Regions from separate parts of the Homo sapiens genome. Here region 2 is linked to region 1. The links are contacts of gene promoters, found by promoter capture Hi-C in blood cells and fetal thymus (Javierre and others, 2016). All regions are on one chromosome and are shown on one strand. The core of a region is centred on a gene start or on the middle of the fragment in contact, and the rest is flanking DNA. Distances in the headings are between cores, read along the strand shown. Region 1 holds the start of FBXW5 (F-box and WD repeat domain containing 5). Region 2 holds the start of LCN8 (lipocalin 8).

Region 1 (4,590 bases), core at 2,091-4,590:
GGCGGCTGCATGGGGTCGGCCACCACCGCACCGTTGGGCCAGGCGCGGCTGTTCACGTACAGGTACCTGGGCGAGGGGCACTGTGCTAGGTGTGGGCCGCCTGCGGGCACCCCGCCTGGGACACTGGCAAGAGGCCCACCTGTTGTCGGGCGACAGGCCCATGCCGATGATGTGTCCGTGTATGTCTATGACGTGGTCCAGCGCGTCGAAGAAGGCATCGGAGCCCCGGCCCTCACCCAGCACGGGCCCTGCCGTGGTCATCTGGTGTGGCAGGATCTGCTTGATGCCTGCAGGGAGGGCTACGGTGAGGGTCCCTGTCCAATGCCCCAAGGACATCACTCCAGGGCAGCTTCCTACCTCAGTGGTGTCTCTGGGGCTGTGAGCACCACAGAGGTCCGTGGGCACTGCCTGCTCCGGGGGCCCCAGACCTGAATCAGGCCCGTCGGTTGCTTGCTGGCCAGCGGCCCTGCCTGCGTTTGTTTTCACTGCTCATCCCACAGGCCCCAGGTCTGGGCTTGTGACCCCAGGGGCGAGTGAACGATCCCAGCTTTGCCTGTGGACTTGCTTGCTGTCTGCCCCTCAGGACCCCTGCCCGGCCTCCCCCAAGCTCCTAGGACCGAGGCGGGCAGCATGGCGGCAGGGGTGTACCGATCTGGTGTGGGGAGTAGGTGAGGCAGCCAGTGGTGAAGATGAGGTACTTGCTCTTGGCGCCTGTGGCACTGCGCTCGGGTGGCTTGGTGTGGCCCTGGGCCAGCAGCTCGGCCACCTTGGTCTCTAGCATGCGCTCCGACAGCTGTGGCTGCGCCCGCCCCTCCAGCACGCGGTCCAGAAAGTGCCGCAAGCCCTCCTTGGCGTGGGCGGGGGCCGGGCCAGCCACCACCTCCTCGTTGTCGCTGCCCAGGTCAAAGATGCGGCAGGGGGACGTGGCCGGGTCACCGGCTTCCAGCAGCAGGTCAGGGCTGTCGAAGCGGCTGCAGTCGGCCACCATCACCGTGCGGACGGTGCTGGCATTGAGGTTCTGGATCTTGAACAGCCGCTTCACCACGTTGACGTTCTCTGACTCCACATCCTGGGGGCGGGGGCACGTGCCAGGTGGGCGCCGGGCGCCAGGCCCCAGGAGGGCAGCCCCGCCCCTAGCCCCGCACGCACCTGGAAGGCATTGTTGAGCCACAGCACCGAGCAGGAGGTGATATCTCCGATGCGGTGCAGGTTCCCCGAGATGAGGCTGGTCTCGGTGAGCCAACAGCCAAACACGTCATAGGGCTTGTTCCGCACGCGGGACAGCAGCGCGAAGGAGTCTGTGGGGAGGCCGGGGCTGGACAGGCTGTCGGCGTGGGGCGGGGGCAGGGTCAACCCGCCGCCCGTGCTCACCTAGGCTGATGACAGCAATCTCGCCGGATGAGGAGTTGTGCGGCCCCAGGAACACCCCCGAGGCCAGCAGTAGCGAGTCGTCCTTGTTGAACTGGGAGAACTGGGTGTAGCTCCAGTTGTAGGGCCGCATGTCCGCGCTGTGCAGCAGCGAGATGGTCAGGTCGTTGCTCCAGATCTGTTCGGCAGGGGCGGCTGTAGTGATCGCCTGGCCAGGTCGCGGGGCGGGGGCCTGCTACTACACAGCCATGAGGCCCCAGCTCTGCCAGCCCTACTCAGAGGCCACCAGGGAGCAGGGACCCCTTCCAGCCACTGTCATCCACTCGGGGGGCATTGGTATAGAGCGGAGGAGCCTGCCCCTGAAGCAGGCGGCTGTGTGTGGGACCCTCTCCTCAGCACTCAGGGCCACCCTGCACCGCTCCTGATCCTCTGTGGTCCCTCCGCTGGATGCAGGGAGGCTGCTGTCACCTCTGGCCTGACCCACCCCCCCCCCCACCACCACCTGGTTGGAACGCCTGGGTCCTGGGACCTCCGTGCTGCGGCAGAGCTGGGTGGGGTGTGCAGGACACCTGGCCGTCCTCACCTTCACAGTGCAGTCCTTGGAGCAGGACGCGAACTGGTACCCGGAATGGGAGAAGCTGAGGTGCAGGACCTGGTCTGTGTGTTCCCGCAGCGTCTGCACCTCCACGCAGGGCACCGTGTCATACAGCCGCTGGAACTCCTCGTACCAGGACATGGCCGCTGCGGGTGGGCAGTTGTCAGTCCTGGGCCCGGGCCTTCCTCGCAGTCACGGCCATGAGCCGAGTGTGGCCCCAGCAGTCCTGGCAGGCCCCGTGGTGCCCCTGGAACCCACTAGTCATGGCATAGGCCTCGGCTGGGGGATTCAACCCTGTAGCTCACAGAGACCCCTGTACCCCCCACCCCCCAAGTGACCCAATGAACCCTCTGGCCTCCAAGCTCTGAGGGGCGCCTGCGCTGTGTCCTGACAGGCCTCTATCAGGGTGTGGGGGGGTGAGCATGGACACGCGGGGCCGCGGGGCGGGCCCCCAGCCAGGCTGACCCCCAAGCGCAGGGGCCCGGGGCCCTGGCTGCAGAACGTGGGTAGGGGCCCCACACGCCACTGACCTGGGTGTCGGGGCACGTCGCGGGCCACCTGGTAGTAGCGGTAGAACTGCTCCCTCCACAGGAACTCGTCCCGCGACACGGCCTGCCATTGGCGGCACACCAGCCCGGCGGCCAGCACGTCGGCCGGGCCCAGGCTCAGGAAGATCTGGTAGACCAGGCTGTCGGGGAGCAGGGGCGTGCCGCCCTCGTCCATCGTGACATTCTGCCCAGGCGGCCCTGAAACCCACCAACGGCTGCCCTCAGCCCAGGCCCGGGAAGGGAGGCCGAGAGCGGGCGTCCTGTTCCTCCAGCCCCAACCGTCCCGCCGGGAGTTCCACGGGGCTGCGTGTCTGCAGGGGACGCCCGGGTACCGCCGCCCAACCAAGGACCCGGCAGCTCCGGGCGGGCCGGGCCGGCCCCTCTCCGCCGCGTCATCCCCCGGCCTCCTGCGGCCGGCAGCGGGCGCCCCTCAGCCCGCCAGGGCCCGGACCGCCGCACGCGAGGCACGGGGACACCAGGCGCCGTCCGGGGACGGGCTTCCGCCGAGAGGAAGCTCGGGGCGGCCAGGCAGTGGCCTCCGCCCTGCGGCCCTGGAGCAGCTCTGCCCGGCGGGCTCGGGGCGGACGGCGGGGACGAGCGCACGGGCGGCCTCGGGGCTCCTGCACTCGCCCAAGGCGGGCGGGGACGACAAGGCGGGACCCCCGAGGGCCGCAGGCGCACTCACCACGGCCGCCTCCGCCCGCTGCGCCGCCCCCGCCCTGCGCGACCCGGACCCGCTTCCGCTGCCGCAGCCGCTCGGACCGCCGCCCCCGCCCAACGGGGAGCCCGCCAGGCCCGACGCCACGAGCCCCGAGGCATCGATGGCCGAGGAAGGCAGAGCGCGCGGGTAGCCCGCATCCGCCCCTCGTGCGCCTGCGCCTTGGGCTCCGGCGGCCTGGCCGGCTTTTCTTTGTGCGCCTGCGCGCACTCGGGCGCATTGGGAACAGCGCCCCTTGTGGCCAGCGGGCGGCGGTCGTGGGCGGGGTTGCAGGCGAGGCTCAACGAACGCTGGTTCGGGACCCGCCTCCGGCGCTCCCTGTTGCCGGGCCCTGAGCAAGTGGCTTCATGAACCCCGTGACGTTGGCCATGGAGATAAGACCACTGGGTGATGGTTTAAGGAAGATAACGTGTAAAGGGCTAAGGACTGTCGGTGGAAATCAGGGGTGCAGGAGAAATGGATAAACAGCCAGAGGTCAACTCGGACTTTGTACATAGGACATGGTGCCAGGGCCCTGCCAGGAAGTGCAGATCGAAGCTAGGCTCACGAGGAGGCTGGAGGTGGGGGGTGGGGAGGCAACGGATGGACATGGACTTCCTGGGCTGGGCTCTGTGACAGCAGAGTAGACTCTGTCCTGGGACTTGGTGGTGCTACCCTTGGCCTCCCACAGTCCTGCCACCCTGCTGCCGCCACCATGCTGCCCCCTGGGACTGCGACCCTCTTGACTCTGCTCCTGGCAGCTGGCTCGCTGGGCCAGAAGCCTCAGAGGCCACGCCGGCCCGCATCCCCCATCAGCACCATCCAGCCCAAGGCCAATTTTGATGCTCAGCAGGTAGAAGTTGGGGGGGGTAGAGGGAGGCAGGTAGAAGTTGTGGGAGGGGTAGAGGGAGACAGGTAGAAGTTGTTGCGGGGGAGAGGGAAGCAGGTGAAGTTGTGGGGGGTGTAGAGGGAAGCAGGTGAGGGGCCCTCCCACAGTGCCCTCGAGTTCTCCCATGGTCTGCCCCCAGTTTGCAGGGACCTGGCTCCTTGTGGCTGTGGGCTCCGCTTGCCGTTTCCTGCAGGAGCAGGGCCACCGGGCCGAGGCCACCACACTGCATGTGGCTCCCCAGGGCACAGCCATGGCTGTCAGTACCTTCCGAAAGCTGTGAGTCCCAGAGCAGCCCTGCACCCTAACCCCAACCCTCCTCTCAGCCCCCGGACTTCAGCCCTGCTCTGGCCCCTGACCCCACCCCGGCTGTGGCCTGGACTAGGATTCCTGGTTGGGGTCTCCCAGCCTGTGGTGCCTCCTCCCCGCCCCCCCAGGGATGGGATCTGCTGGCAGGTGCGCCAGCTCTATGGAGACACAGGGGTCCTCGGCCGCT
Region 2 (4,528 bases), core at 68-2,567, 190 kb before region 1:
GCAGCCTGACCACGACCCTAGCAGGGCGGGAGGGCAGGGGTTGCTGCCTTGCACGTGAGCTGCACTGTTTGTCCAGTAACCACGGAAAACACACCTCCTGTTGCCAGACCTGGGGCGGGTGAGTCCCCCCACACCTGTCACCCATCGGCCCTCCGGAAGGACACACCAGGCAGTGGCTTGACTTCACAGTTTATTCAGAGCAGGTGCAGGTGACCTGGTGGGCAGGGTGCCCAGGAGGGGCAGGGGTGGGCGGGCGCTCCGAACCTTGTGGTCTGAGGCAGGAACTCCATTAAATCAGCTCCTGCGACACAGAAGTGCAGGGGCTCAGGCCCGTGTGGTCTCTGGAGGCCCCACGGGGCTTCGATGAGGGCCACACGGCGGGACTTCTGTCCTCGCTGCCTGGTTTTGCGCAAAGCACCCAGCTCCCTGAGCGCCTTCTCAATCTGCAAAATGGGGTAACAGGCCCAGCCTCTAGGGCCAAGACAAAGCGAGGTGAGGGAGACACTGGGTTCTCGCAGTGCCCAACATGGGAGCCCTGAGGCAGCGCCCGCAGGATCTGTGCCCCGCCGCCGACGGGACCTTCGGGGGCAGAAGCAGCCGGCAGTCCTGCACAGAACACCGAAGAAAAGGCGCCATTTCTGCTCCCCTGCCCCACCCAGCTCTGCACCCCGTGACCCCAGCCTCCCAGGGTCCCTGCCTGGCAGCCTAGGGTCACCACCCTGGAGGTTCCAGCTCTTTCCAAACCAGGAGACAGACTCATCTCTGGAGCTGCCCACCAGTGGTGTTTGGTGTCCTGTTCACAGGAAGGGGTGAGAAGGCCCAGCCCAGGGCCGGGAGGCGGAGCCACGGGGGCTCCTGACAGGGCCAGGGACTGGGCCAGGGGCCCGGGAACTTCAGCACAGGCCAGGGTCGGGGGTCAGGCTCACCTCCTTCAGGAGCTCGGCACACCGCCCTGCAGGATAGGCCAGCATGAGGAGCTGCAGAGTCAGCCCACAGGGCCCAGCCCAGCCTCCACCCCAAGGCCCCTGGGCTCACCAGGCCGGGCCGCCAGGTAGAGACCAGTGTCTGCTGTCAGCTCCCGAAACTTCCAGAACCCCAGCCGGTCCTTGTCCTCAAGGCTCCGAGCTGTGGGGCACAGGGGGGCTGGGCGGGCAGTCCCTGGGAGAGCAGCAGCTGGGCAGAGCCCCCCAGGGCCAAGCTTACTAAAGTACTTGAGGACGCGAAAGTTCCTGCCCCGCCACATCAGGGACACCCGCAGGATGGCGTAGCCCTCGTAGTCGGTGTCCAGCACGTGGATCTCTCTGTGGCCTTCAAGAGCCGGCCATGGCGTTGGGGGAGACGTCTGAGGGGGACGGACCTCGAAGGCCAGGGTCTGCAGGGTCTAACTCCATCCTGCCCCCACCCAGTCCCAGCACTTGAGTGGTTGGAGACACTACAGAAGCTTTTGAAGGATGATCCAGTGTGTTGGTGGGAGAATGGGAAGGTCTGGGGCATGAAATGTGCAGGGAACAGCATGGGGAACAGTGCAGGGAACCCTGCAGGGAACAGCATGGGGAACGGTGCAGGAAACAGCATGGGGAACAGTGCAGGGAACAGCATGGGGAACAGTGCAGGGAACAGTGCAGGGAATGCATGGGGAACGGCACAGAGAAAAGTGCAGGGAACAGCATGGGGAATAGTGCAGGGAGCAGTGCGGGGAACAGTGCAGGGAGCATTGCAGGGAACAGCATGGGGAACAGTGCAGGGAACAGTGCAGGGAATGCATGGGGAACGGCACAGAGAAAAGTGCAGGGAACAGCATGGGGAATAGTGCAGGAAACAGCATGGGGAACAGTGCAGGGAGCAGTGCGGGGAACAGTGCAGGGAGCATTGCAGGGAACAGCATGGGGAACAGTGCAGGGAACAGCATGGGGAACAGCGCAGGGAACAGCATGTGGAACAGCGCAGGGAACAGCATGAGGAACAGTGCAGGGAACAGCATGGGGAACAGCGCAGGGAACAGCATGGGGAACAGTGCAGGGAACAGTGCAGGGAACGCATGGGGAATGGCGCAGAGAAAAGTGCAGGGAACAGCATGGGGAATAGTGCAGGAAACAGCATGTGGAACAGTGCAGGGAGCAGTGCAGGGAACAACATGGGGAACAGCACAGGGAATAGTTCAGGGAACAGCATGGGGAACAGTGCAGGGAACAGCACAGAGAACAGTGCAGGGAACAGCATGGGGAACAGTGCAGGGAACAGCATGGGGAACAATAAGGCCTAGCTGTGTGCACAGCCGGGTTCCACCTGCCATCACAGGGCAACTGCACTTACCAGGAAAAGCGAATTTTCCCGTACTGTCTATTTCTGAGCCCACGATCTTCTCTATCTCACAGCTTCCTGAGCTGAAAGGCAGCAAAGTGCCCATCGGTAAAATGCTAGCCTGTGTCCCGCCTGCTGGGCTCCTTCCCGGAGTGGGGCTGTGTCTTTAGGAAGGGCACAGGCAGCACTGTGGAGTATCCCAGGCCTGGAGCAGGATGAGGCGGGGAATGTGCCAGGTGGGGCCTTCCCCTGGGGATTCTGTTCCCTCCAGCCAGTCACCTGTCCCACACCCCTTTTCCTTCCTTCTAAGTTCACGGGGCTTCATTAAAACACTATGCTTATATTTGGGATAAAATGCAGATCCAGGAGCCTGGGGGTCGAGGGCTCAGGCAGACGGGCACCGGGAGTGCTGGCCCACCAGCGGGACGGCACTCAGCCCAGACCCCACGCTGCAGCGGGTGCAGCAACCCACGCCCAGTCCCCGGCCATGCATGCCTCTTCCTCTCCAGCAGCCCCCAGGCCTCTTACCTGTTATATGCAACCTTCACGGTCAGGTTACTCCCGCTCAAGGTGAGGAACAAGCCCTCCACCCGCTTCGGGGCCGTCAGCACCAGGCTTTGATCGGAGGCCACACCGACTTCCCTCCAGAATCCTCCAATCTAGAGAGATACGGAGCCTGGCCAAGAGCTGAGCAGTGGGTCTGAGACCCCCAGGGGCATTCCACGAACCCCCGGGCAGGGGCCTGCTGGGCTCTGAGAGGTCAGCAGATGGCTGTGAGGCTCGGTGGCAAAGCAGCAAGACATCTGTGAGCCCACTGTCCCCAGGCATGTGTCCCTCCAAGCGGTGCCTTCAGGCCATCAGACAGCAATGCCCACAGGGCAGCCCCTCCCCACTGGGCCATCTAGAGCTGCGGAACAGTCCCTAGGGCTTCTGCGACATGTCGGGAGGAACCACAGGCCCTGCCTGACCTCGGAGGCAGGACCCAGGAGCAGAGGCCTGGAAAAGAAAGCCCGCAGGGCGCGGCGGAGTGAGAAACGCCAGAGAACAGGTGGCTCGGGTAGCGCAGCTCGCCAGCCTGCCAACCACGCCAGAGGATGGGCCTCCTGCCCTCAGCAACCCGCCCAGAGCCGGGACTTCCGCTGAGACTTTTAAAAACCCTACCATTTTCGGGAGGAAAGAATCTTCGTCTCCGGCATCTACCTTCTCTGGGCCTGCTAATGTGCCTCTGGCCCAGCAGCCGGCACAGACTCAGCGGAGAAGAAAATGCCGCTAACAGGAAGTGTCTAGCCGGGCACCAGCGTCCCCACGAGCTCCCCACACCGGGAGAGGCCTCCTTCCCTGAGCCTGAGGGGTTGGGGGTGTAGGAGGAGCCCCACCAACTAAGAAGGAGAAGCCACCTTCTGCCGGTCCAGCTCCTCCATGGCTGCTGCCACCTGCGCCCGGAGCACCACGAGGACACCCAGGATGGTGCACGGCAGCCTGGCCTCCGTGGCGGGGTCCGGGCTCCGGGTTCCCCTGCTGCACAGCCTGGGCCGATTCTATACGGACAGTGCAGGCTTGTGCGCCCACCCGGGAATGTCATCAGGACAGCTTGGCTGCTGGCAGCTCAGAGACGTGGGTTTCTGCACAAGCGCCATCGGCCCTGGTGACACCCACGCCCACCGCAGGGGTTAGCCTGGCCTAGACAGCAGCCTGCCCAGCCACCCTCCTGGCATATGGACAGCGGTGGACGCTGCTGGGGCCGTCTCGGAGCCTGAGAGGAAGAGGAGCTCCACCCACACCACCTGGGGCTCGGTGACCCCCACCCCACATGACACTTGTTTTTTTGGGCTCGTTCTGGCCTGCGCTGCGAGGGCTGTGGGCACTGATGGGCAACGGACCAGAGCCTCCAGCACTTTCCTGTGCCACCCCACGCCTGGCCCTTTGAAATGTGTGCCAGACGCAGTGGGCAGTCAGAGCTCCGGAGGCCGGAGGCACAGCGCCAGCGACCAGAGTGACAGTGACAGTGGGGAGGGCCTCTGCTGCACCAGGCATCACCACCCGGGGGCAGTGTGGAGCCCGGCCCTGGAGCCTGATCACCCAGGCTTGCAGCCCGCCTGGCCTCTTCCTGGCTGTGCAGCCTTGGATAAGTTACCCAACCCTTCTGTGCCTCGGTTTCTTGATTTTTTTTTTCTTTTTTTTTTTTTCCTGAGACAGAGTCTTGCTCCATCGCCCAGGCTGGAGTGCA

The links. Contacts are between HindIII fragments. The CHiCAGO score rates a contact against its expected background, and 5 or more counts as called.
Region 2: a fragment that was not itself captured here is called in contact with the fragment with the promoter of FBXW5 in region 1 in 2 of 17 cell types (endothelial precursors and erythroblasts); the score reaches 6.9 in endothelial precursors.

What each region holds. Positions count from the first base shown.
Region 1 is chr9:136,941,398-136,945,987 of GRCh38, forward strand. It overlaps FBXW5 (F-box and WD repeat domain containing 5), which reads right to left and starts at 3,341. Exons shown (of 9, transcript NM_018998.4): 1 at 3,197-3,341; 2 at 2,494-2,709; 3 at 1,952-2,109; 4 at 1,372-1,546; 5 at 1,150-1,298; 6 at 649-1,069; 7 at 140-287; 8 at 1-66. The coding sequence starts at 2,686. C8G (complement C8 gamma chain) reads left to right here and starts at 3,846. Exons shown (of 7, transcript NM_000606.3): 1 at 3,846-4,061; 2 at 4,237-4,373; 3 at 4,532-4,590. The coding sequence starts at 3,924. RefSeq lists an enhancer at 1,754-2,519 and silencers at 2,355-2,424, 2,805-3,384. The HindIII fragment of the contact is 9,073 bases long and covers 1-4,590 here.
Region 2 is chr9:136,754,209-136,758,736 of GRCh38, forward strand. It overlaps LCN8 (lipocalin 8), which reads right to left and starts at 4,035. Exons shown (of 7, transcript NM_178469.4): 1 at 3,699-4,035; 2 at 2,830-2,960; 3 at 2,314-2,384; 4 at 1,204-1,308; 5 at 1,036-1,125; 6 at 927-952; 7 at 178-301. The coding sequence starts at 3,722. The coding sequence ends at 290. RefSeq lists an enhancer at 4,050-4,239. The HindIII fragment of the contact is 243 bases long and covers 1,197-1,439 here.